Regions from separate parts of the Homo sapiens genome. Here regions 1 and 3 are each linked to region 2. The links are contacts of gene promoters, found by promoter capture Hi-C in blood cells and fetal thymus (Javierre and others, 2016). All regions are on one chromosome and are shown on one strand. Each heading gives the region's core, a stretch centred on a gene start or on the middle of the fragment in contact. The rest is flanking DNA. Distances are from core to core; before and after follow the strand shown.

The links. Contacts are between HindIII fragments. The CHiCAGO score rates a contact against its expected background, and 5 or more counts as called.
Region 1: a fragment that was not itself captured here is called in contact with the fragment with the promoter of DUSP7 in region 2 in 1 of 17 cell types (endothelial precursors); the score reaches 6.7 in endothelial precursors.
Region 3: a fragment that was not itself captured here is called in contact with the fragment with the promoter of DUSP7 in region 2 in 3 of 17 cell types (M0 macrophages, endothelial precursors and megakaryocytes); the score reaches 7.8 in M0 macrophages.

What each region holds. Positions count from the first base shown.
Region 1 is chr3:52,091,797-52,094,496 of GRCh38, forward strand. The region is part of intron 10 of POC1A (POC1 centriolar protein A); the gene reads right to left. Among named protein-coding and RNA genes, the nearest start is that of LINC00696, 28 kb to the left of the region's middle. The HindIII fragment of the contact is 2,226 bases long and covers 318-2,543 here.
Region 2 is chr3:52,055,255-52,057,954 of GRCh38, forward strand. It overlaps DUSP7 (dual specificity phosphatase 7), which reads right to left and starts at 1,317. Exons shown (of 3, transcript NM_001947.4): 1 at 596-1,317. The coding sequence starts at 1,112. RefSeq lists silencers at 608-657, 978-1,037, 1,238-1,617, 2,018-2,377. The HindIII fragment of the contact is 7,722 bases long and covers 1-2,026 here.
Region 3 is chr3:52,115,652-52,118,351 of GRCh38, forward strand. The region is part of intron 9 of POC1A (POC1 centriolar protein A); the gene reads right to left. Among named protein-coding and RNA genes, the nearest start is that of POC1A, 37 kb to the right of the region's middle. The HindIII fragment of the contact is 608 bases long and covers 1,109-1,716 here.

The sequences.
Region 1 (2,700 bases), core at 181-2,680, 37 kb after region 2:
AACAGCTGGCACCAGTCTAGCACACTCAGTTAACCAAGAGCCGCACAGCAGAGCTCAGAGGACCCAATGAGGCATCTCTCCCCATTTTACAAGGGAGGAGACTGAGGCTCTGGGATTGATGTCACCTGCCCAAGGTCACCCAGGTGATGAATGGTGGAGGTGTGCCCAGGCTGACAGGCAGGTGGCTCACTGGGTGAACAGAGCAGCCCTGAAACTCAAGGAGGAACAGTTGCTCCCCACAGCTGGTGGGGATGTGTAAAGCTGAACAAACCCCAGCTGCTCAAAGCATGGCATCAGCTGGGATCAGGGCCCAGAGAAGCTTAGCGAAGAAACCAGTGATGCCCCAAACAGCAAGCTCAGTGTTTACTGGGGCAAGGAGGGGTCATCCCCACACAGGGGCAGGCCAGGGCAAGGATGTGTCTGCTCTTTGGCTGGTGACCTAAGGGACTCGGCCTGCTGGGCTCTCTGATCACAGAGCCCTGGGCAAGAGCTTCTGGCCTTACCTTTCAGGGAGGTCAAGTTTGGTTTGCAGAATTTCTTGATGAAGCCATCCCTAACTGCACCAAAACTGTTTGGCAAGGGAAGCTAGGGATGCTCTGGCCCACAGTGGTTGAGATCAGGATCACCTGGCCTCCTGGAGAAGCCCCAGGCTGGCTGGACCCCGAGGCTGGTCCAGGCACAACAAGCCATTATTAACACATTATCTGCACCTGGCATGATGTTGCTGCCATGTGCCAGGTGGGAGGATAAAGTGAGGTCCACAAAGGGAAGTCCTTGGAAAGTGGCAGGCCTCAGATAAAAACCAGGAGGATGAAAACTATGATGAGTATGTGATCCCCACACTCTGAGGACTTTTCATCTAAAACAACTACGTGGGGAGGCCTGAAGACTGCACCTGCTCGGCTCACAAGGTCACCCCAAAGTCTATTTTCCCCATATAAATACACTTTTGAAAAATAATGTATGGATTTTATAAAAAAGGCTTTCATAAAAAAGTAAAACACCAACCCCATTTCTGGAGTTAAAGGGTTTCTGATGCTGTGCAAGTCCCAAGGGCAGTTTGGTTTCCTCTTCATCTGAAAGGCCTCTTGGCCTGGGAAGGCTGGGGGAAGCTGCCCCACTTGCTGGCTTGCTCCGGAGACCAGGAGCCTTGCAGGGGCCAGCCAAAGTGCTGTTTGTCTCATCGCCCCTGGGATGGAGCCATGATAGCACTGCCCTTGCTCGCGTCTCAACTTCTCTGTGTCCCCATCTCCACTCTACCCCAGACCCTCAGCATGGGTCAGGCCTCGACTTTGCCTAGTGTCCCGTCAGGTGAGGGTGAACTCCTGGGCTGCTGCTTCTGTTACCCCACACCAGAGGACCCATGGCCTTGACCCGGTGTCTGGACTCCCACTTGTTTCCAGTTATTCCAGTTGCCAGCTCCTCTGGGGAGGCCTGGCTCTGACCTTGGCAGATTCAGTCCTGAGTTCTTCCTGAAGGTGGGACTGGGTCTCACACAGGGCCCACCACACAGAGTGGGCTCAGTGAATGTGTGTGCATGGAAGGAACCTGCCACCTCTGCTCTGAGGGCCAAGGAATGGCTCTCCTGGGTAGGGAAGGGTCTAGCTTCATGAGGCAGTGGAAAATTGGGAGAGCTATTTCTGGTGCTGTCATGCAGATCCCCCTGGCCCCCAAGCCTTGGATAACGACAATGGCAGCAACAGGAGCAGCACCCAACACATCAGCAGTGCACGGCGTTGTCAGGTACTATTCAAGGAGCTTCCCAAGAGGCCTATGAAGTGGGTATTATTATCAGCTCTGTGTTCCAGATTTGGAAAGTAAGGCACACAGACTCAAAGTGACTTGCCCAAGGTCACTGAGCTAGGCAATGGGGAAGCCAGACAAAACCTGAGCCACTCCTCTCCATTGGCTCACTCAGCTTCCTGGCTTCCAGGCCTTTCCTTTACACAGAGGAGCCGCTGAAGGGGTCACCCTGGGGAGGACTGAGATTGGGTCCCTGACCCTCAGACTGGTGCCAGACAGGCCACAAACATCCACAGAGGTGACCTCGCCACATGGGGCCATACCAGCCTGTTGAACAGGAAGGCAGGCTTTGAAGACTGTGAGCCTCTGAAATAGGGTGTCCTACCCAGGGGCTGGAGACTCTGTGACTCACTCAGAAAACATCCCTGGCTACGGCCCGCTGCATCCCCATGGCTCTCCCCTAGAAGGATGTTCTGCAGGATGGAGGCCTGAAGGACCCAGAAGGCAGCTTCCCTCTCAAAGGCCACTCTGAAGTAGACTTCCCTGTGGGGGAGGGAAGGGATGGTGGAGGCAACAGAGGAGAACAGCACAATTCACATGGATGACTTTGTAGTAGGAATCAGTGTTGGGGTGGCTGGGCATCCTACCCCTCCAGAACACAAAGGCTCTTCAGGACTGGGCAGATGGCAAGGAGTGCTTGCTGATGGGGTGGCACCCGAGACCAATATCCACAGACCAAGTAGGAAGCCCAGCTGAACAAGCCGCTTGGGAAGATGGATGGTGGTGGCCGCCTGGCACTAAGCTTCAGGGGAGGGCTGGGTCAGTCTGGACCATCCAGAGCGGGGCCTGCTGTGGGCCTGCCTCTGCTGGGCCAATGCCAAGAGAAAGGCACAGGGAAACTTTCAACCCCCTGGTGGAGATAGCTCTGGCTGTGGCTGGAACATCTCAGCTAGAGAA
Region 2 (2,700 bases), core at 67-2,566:
CTCCGGGGCAGCAGGCTAGGGACCTGGGGGTCCCGAGAGACCCGGGCCAGGGCAATGGAGCCTGCCCATACCCTGCCCCAAGCGCCTCCTAGAGGCGGCAATTCTCCGGTGGAAGAAGCAATTCCCGGATCCAGGAGACCCCAACCCAAATGGTCTCCATGCGCTGGAGGTGAGGATGGTGCTATGAAAGGTGCCCTTCCTGATCCTGGCCTTCCAGAAACACGAATTCTAGGCTGGACTTGGGCGCCCTGCCGCTTTTAGGGTTCTGGGAGGCGGCGCCTTCCACCTCTGAGGGGCTCCACTGGAGCCCAGGCACTACTGTCGCCCCATCAACAGGAAAAAAAAGGAAACCCCAGGCAGGGGAAAGTTTGTTCCACCCACTCGAATCGTGCCGAGAAAGGGGGCGCAGAGGGAGCCCCGCGCCTGCCAAACCACACAGTGGGGACCCGGCTCCAGGAGGGCGGATGCGGGCCGGGGACGACGTGGCGCCCAGAGGGGCAGGCCGAGCGCGTGGAGAGGAAAGCGCCTCCAAGGGGGGCGTCAGGGAGTCGCGGGGGGGCCCCGATCCCGTAAGGCGTCTCGGTGCCGCCCTCACCTTGGAGGTAGTAGGCCTGGCAGCCGTCGTCGCGCAGCTTCTGTAGGAGCAGGCCGAGCACGGAGGCGGGAGCGCCGGGCTCGGGCTGCCACTCGGCCGTGGCCTCGTCGTAGAGCAGCACGGTGGCCGCCTTGCAGCGCGTGGCGAAGCGCTCCTTGTCGGCGTGGTTGGGGATGATGGAGCGGATGGGCAGGTTGCCCTTGCGCAGGCGGCGCAACATGAGGCCCGGGATGGCCAGGTTGATGGCCGTCTCGATGTGCGACGACTCGAAGAGCTCGTGCGGCCGGCAGTCGAGCAGCAGCAAGGACGCGCCGCCGCGCGCCTCCAGCTCCTCCTGCAGCCACTCGGCGCTCTTGCAGGGCATGGCCCCTGCCCCCGTCGCCGCGCCCGCCCCGGTGCCTGCGCCGGACCCCGACCCCGCACCGGGCTCGGACCCCGCCCGGGTGCCCCCAGCCGCCGCCGCCCCCGAAGTCGACATGTGCGCCCGCGCTGGGGGGCCGCGGAGCTGGTTTTTCATGGGGAGCGCGGGCGGCCCGGGGCCGGGGCCGGGCAGCCCTGCCCTGGGACGGCGCCCCGGCCGCGCGGGCCCCAGCCGCGTCTCCGGGCGCCCGCCTCCCGCCGAGCTGCGCGCCCGCCGCCCCGGCCTCCCGGCCTCCCGGCCTCCGTCCCGCCCGCCCGCCCGGCCCTCCGCGCGCACCGCGGCCTGACAGCCCCAATTAAACGGCGGCTCCGGCGGCCGCGCGCCGAGGCGTTCTCCGGGGGGCGGGGCCGCGGGGGCCGGCGCCCGGGCTTAAAGGCGCAGCGCCTCCACCGCCCCTCCCCACGGGGTATGCGGGCGCGCTCGCGACCCGAGCCCGGGAGACCAGCGGCGGGGCCCTCCCCCACCGCCTCCGCACCGTTGCCCCCTGGACTAGCTCGGAGCTGACTACGATCCGCCTAGGGACCCCGGCCTAGACGCCCTCATGGGTTCACTCTGCGCGTGCTCCCAAGCTCTTCTGGACACTGCGGGAAGAGAGGCCCTGGGGGCGTCCTATGCCTGGCACCCCCACCCCACATTCACAACAGCATAGTTTTCCTGGGACGGGGCGTGGTGGGGGGGATGGTCAAGCTGAGCAACCTCTCCTCCTCCCGCCTGTCATCCCATTCATTTTTTCTGTCATCGAGTTCATTCAACAAATGAGAACTGAACGCCTACTACGTGCCAGGCACTGTGCTAGGCGGTCACCGTTTCAGAGGACCTCATCGTTCCCCTGACGGTCACAGGCTCCAGACCTGAGGGAGAGCGTCTCACGCCAGCAGGCCTGATGGGAAATCAGGACCTGGGCAACTGGCGGGGTAGGAAGACTCAGGGCCGTGCCACCTTCCGTGGGCAGGTGTGGAGAAATCCTAGAAAGGACCAGCTTTGGGAAGGGATCGCGAGCCCTTTAAGAAAGCTTTACAAGCGGGGTGGTGACAGGCGCCCAGTGAAGCGCCACGTGACTTTTTCCACGGGGCCGGTGGGAGGGGAATGCTCCTTTATAATCAGCTTTCCTTCCCCTGCCTCCCTCTCAACGGACCAATCAACTTCCGCGGTAGGCGGGCGCCTGCCATGCAGATGGCCAATCCTGGCCGAAAGAGGCGGTGGCGGAGGGAGGCGGGGCCCGCCGCGGTTTCCACCCAGGGCGGGGAAGTGGGCGGGGCCTCCGCCCGCCCTGTGTGTCGATTTGCAGGCAGGCGGGGCAGCGGAGGTGAATGGACCCGCAGGTAGCGCTAGAACAAAGCGGCTAGACGCAGGCGGCGCGCTTGCGTAGGACCTGCAGTGCTTTCCCTACGGAGCCAGGGTGGCAGCTTGAGGCTGGACCCTGCCGTCTATCTGGTCCATTCTTTTGCCTGGCGGGGTGCCCCTCCTTGGGGCTTAACCCCCCGACTCCGCCCGAGGCTGGTCGGCTCTGAGACACCTTGCCCCCATCCCTGACTGGGGGAGCGGTGGTGCTTGAGGGACGGCCTCTGGAACCCCGAGGATTTGAGCTTTCCGCTAACCTCTGACCAGAAGGCACGAAAAGGGGTGACTCAGGAGCAGTCCCCGCCTGTCTTTCAAGCGAGGGATAGTCTTTCGGAAGAGTTTC
Region 3 (2,700 bases), core at 163-2,662, 60 kb after region 2:
CCCTTATGAAAGAGACCCCAGAGATCTAGCTAGCCCCTTCCACCACGCGAGGACACAGTGAGAAGGAGCCATCTATGAAGCAGAAAACAAACCCTCACCAGACACTAAACCCGTTGGTGCTTTGCTTGGACTTCCCAGCCTCCAGAACTGTGAGAAATAAAATTTCTATATTTATAATCTACCTAGTCTATGGTATTTTGTTATAGCATCCTGAGCAGACTAACACATAATCTATGAGGCAAGGGATGAGAAAATACTTAACCAGTATAATGTACATTATTTGGGTGATGATTACACTAAAAGCCCAGACTTCACCCCTACACAATATACCAGGTAACAAAACTGCACTTGTACTTCTGAAATGTATACAAATAATTTTAAAAAATCTATGAGGCAGATGAGGTGGAAATGGGTCTCCTCTCCCTGTTTCTCCAACTCTCTAATTCCTCAGGCAAGGCACCTGGAGTGAGAACCCAGATCTTAAAAATCCACAGGCACCCAGGACCCCCAGATCCAAAGCATAAGGGAAGATCTAGTGCCAAGAATCTCTGGGCCAGGAATCAGGGTCCCACAAATCCCTAAGTGAAGCCCACCCCTGTGGCAGTGCCCCAAAAATGGAAATGTGGGAGGTTAAGGACAAGCACAGGAGGTGGCTGGTGCTTTACTCTCAGTATCAGAGGAACTAGGAAGAAGAAATAGACCATCCTTCGGCACGGATGAGGCTCAGTTCAGATGTTCTCAACTGACCCAGCTCCCTCTTCCAGAGGACAGTTCAAGCACTGAGGCTCTGGGGATCCTGGGCATCTTGTCCTGAGGAATCCTGTGGCAGAAGGACAAGTCTGTTTCCACCCACTCACAGATCTGCTCTCTCATCTGGGAGCACAGGGGACTTGGGTCTGCCATCAGGAAACACAATTTTGATGCCTGCAAGGGTCTAGAAACCTCACTGGCCCTCACTACGATGACCTGCAGAGAGGGGTCAACGTGGAAAATTATAAGTGCTCCCATTATTGCCCACTGTCCCTCACCCCAGCAAGTTTTGAACACATAATCTCCTGGATTGGCTTTCAGTCAGGGAGGGGAAAAGAACCCTTTTTAAAGTAGCTAAAGCTTGGTGGGGCAGGCGTGGTAGTTCACACCTATAATCCCAATGCTTTGGGAGGCAGAGGCAGGAGAACTGCTTGAGCCCAGGAATTTGAGACCAGCCTAGACAAGACAGGGAGACCCTTTCTCTACAAAAAATTTAAAAAATTAGGCCAGGTGCGGTGGCTCACACCTGTAATCCTAGCCCTTTGGGAGGCCAACGCAGGTGGATCACCTGAGCTCTCGAGTTCGAGACCAGCCTGGCCAACATGGTGAAATCCCATCTCTACTAAAAATACAAAATTTAGCCAGGCGTGGAGGTGCACGCTTGTATTCCCAGCTACTCGGGAGGCTGAGGCACAAGAATCTCTTGAATCCAGGAGGCAGAGATTATAGTGAGCCAAGATTGTGCCACTGCACTCCAGCCTGGGTGACAGCACAAGACTCTGTCTCAAAAAAAAAAAAAAAATTAGCTGGGTGTGGGGGCACACGCCTATAGTCCCAGCTACTCAGGAGGCTGAGACAGGAGGATCGCTTCAGCCTGGGAGGTTGAAGCTGCAGTGAGCCACAATTGCGCCACTGTAGTTCAGCCTGGGTGACAGAGTGAGACCCTGACTCAAAAAAAATAGCTAAAGCTTGATGAGCACTTGTCATGTGCCAGGCAGATGCACCACGCATGAAATCCCACGAAGGAGGGCCCAGCCTCTCCCCAAACGACAGAAGAGAAAACCGTGCCTCACAGACGTCTGGCCACTTTCCTAGGACCACACCCCAGGCAGGGTAGAGAAAGGATTTAATCACAGGTTGGCTGGAAGCTAGAACCCAGGCTCTTAACCACAGATGAGCTTTCCTCCTTAAAATGAGATCTTGAGAGGTGAGTGGAGAAAAGCACTCAGCCCTAGAACTCAAGGTTAATGTGTGAACCGGACAGCAGCCAACCCTTAGAACTCAGAAAGTGGGTTTTTTTTTCCTCCCGTTTCACTGAATTACCTAGAACTCTGTGTTCTCCTCCCACCCCACCCAGCGCAACCTTTCTTCCCCATTGCATAATGGGCCCTCAGACATTTGGAAGGAGGGCAAAAATAAGTCAATCAAGCAAATGCATTTTTGCTATTTAAAAAGTGGTTAAAAAATGCTTCTGTGGTTGAGCAGAAGTCCGTCCTATAGTGGCAGGGGTTTGGGAGGTGTTAAATTCAAGATCAGCCAAGATACAGGGGTCTTTATGCCTCGGGGTCAGGCCCCAAAGAACAGACAGCAAGAGGGTGGACAAGAATAGAGGGGCCAGGGCTGTGGCAGGAACAGAGCTAAGCACTAGACCCTTGAAAACACGAGCACGGGCACCCAATGCAGACAATTCCCAGGGGCTCCCATCCCTTGCCCACCCTCAAGCCCCTCTGGGAGGTGCTCATTTGCCTGCAAGTGGCTCTTCCAACCTTCCCCCAGCCTTGTAGCATGTCACAAGGCTGAACATGGAGCTTCTGTCCACCCTCAGCCCAGAGCATGGCCTGGAATCCTTCATCTGCAACCTTCTAAGTAGAGAAGGTTCCCCAGCCACAAGCCCTGAAATCCCTCCTCATGCACAACTCAGCCAAGAATAGAGGGAAAATGGAACCCATT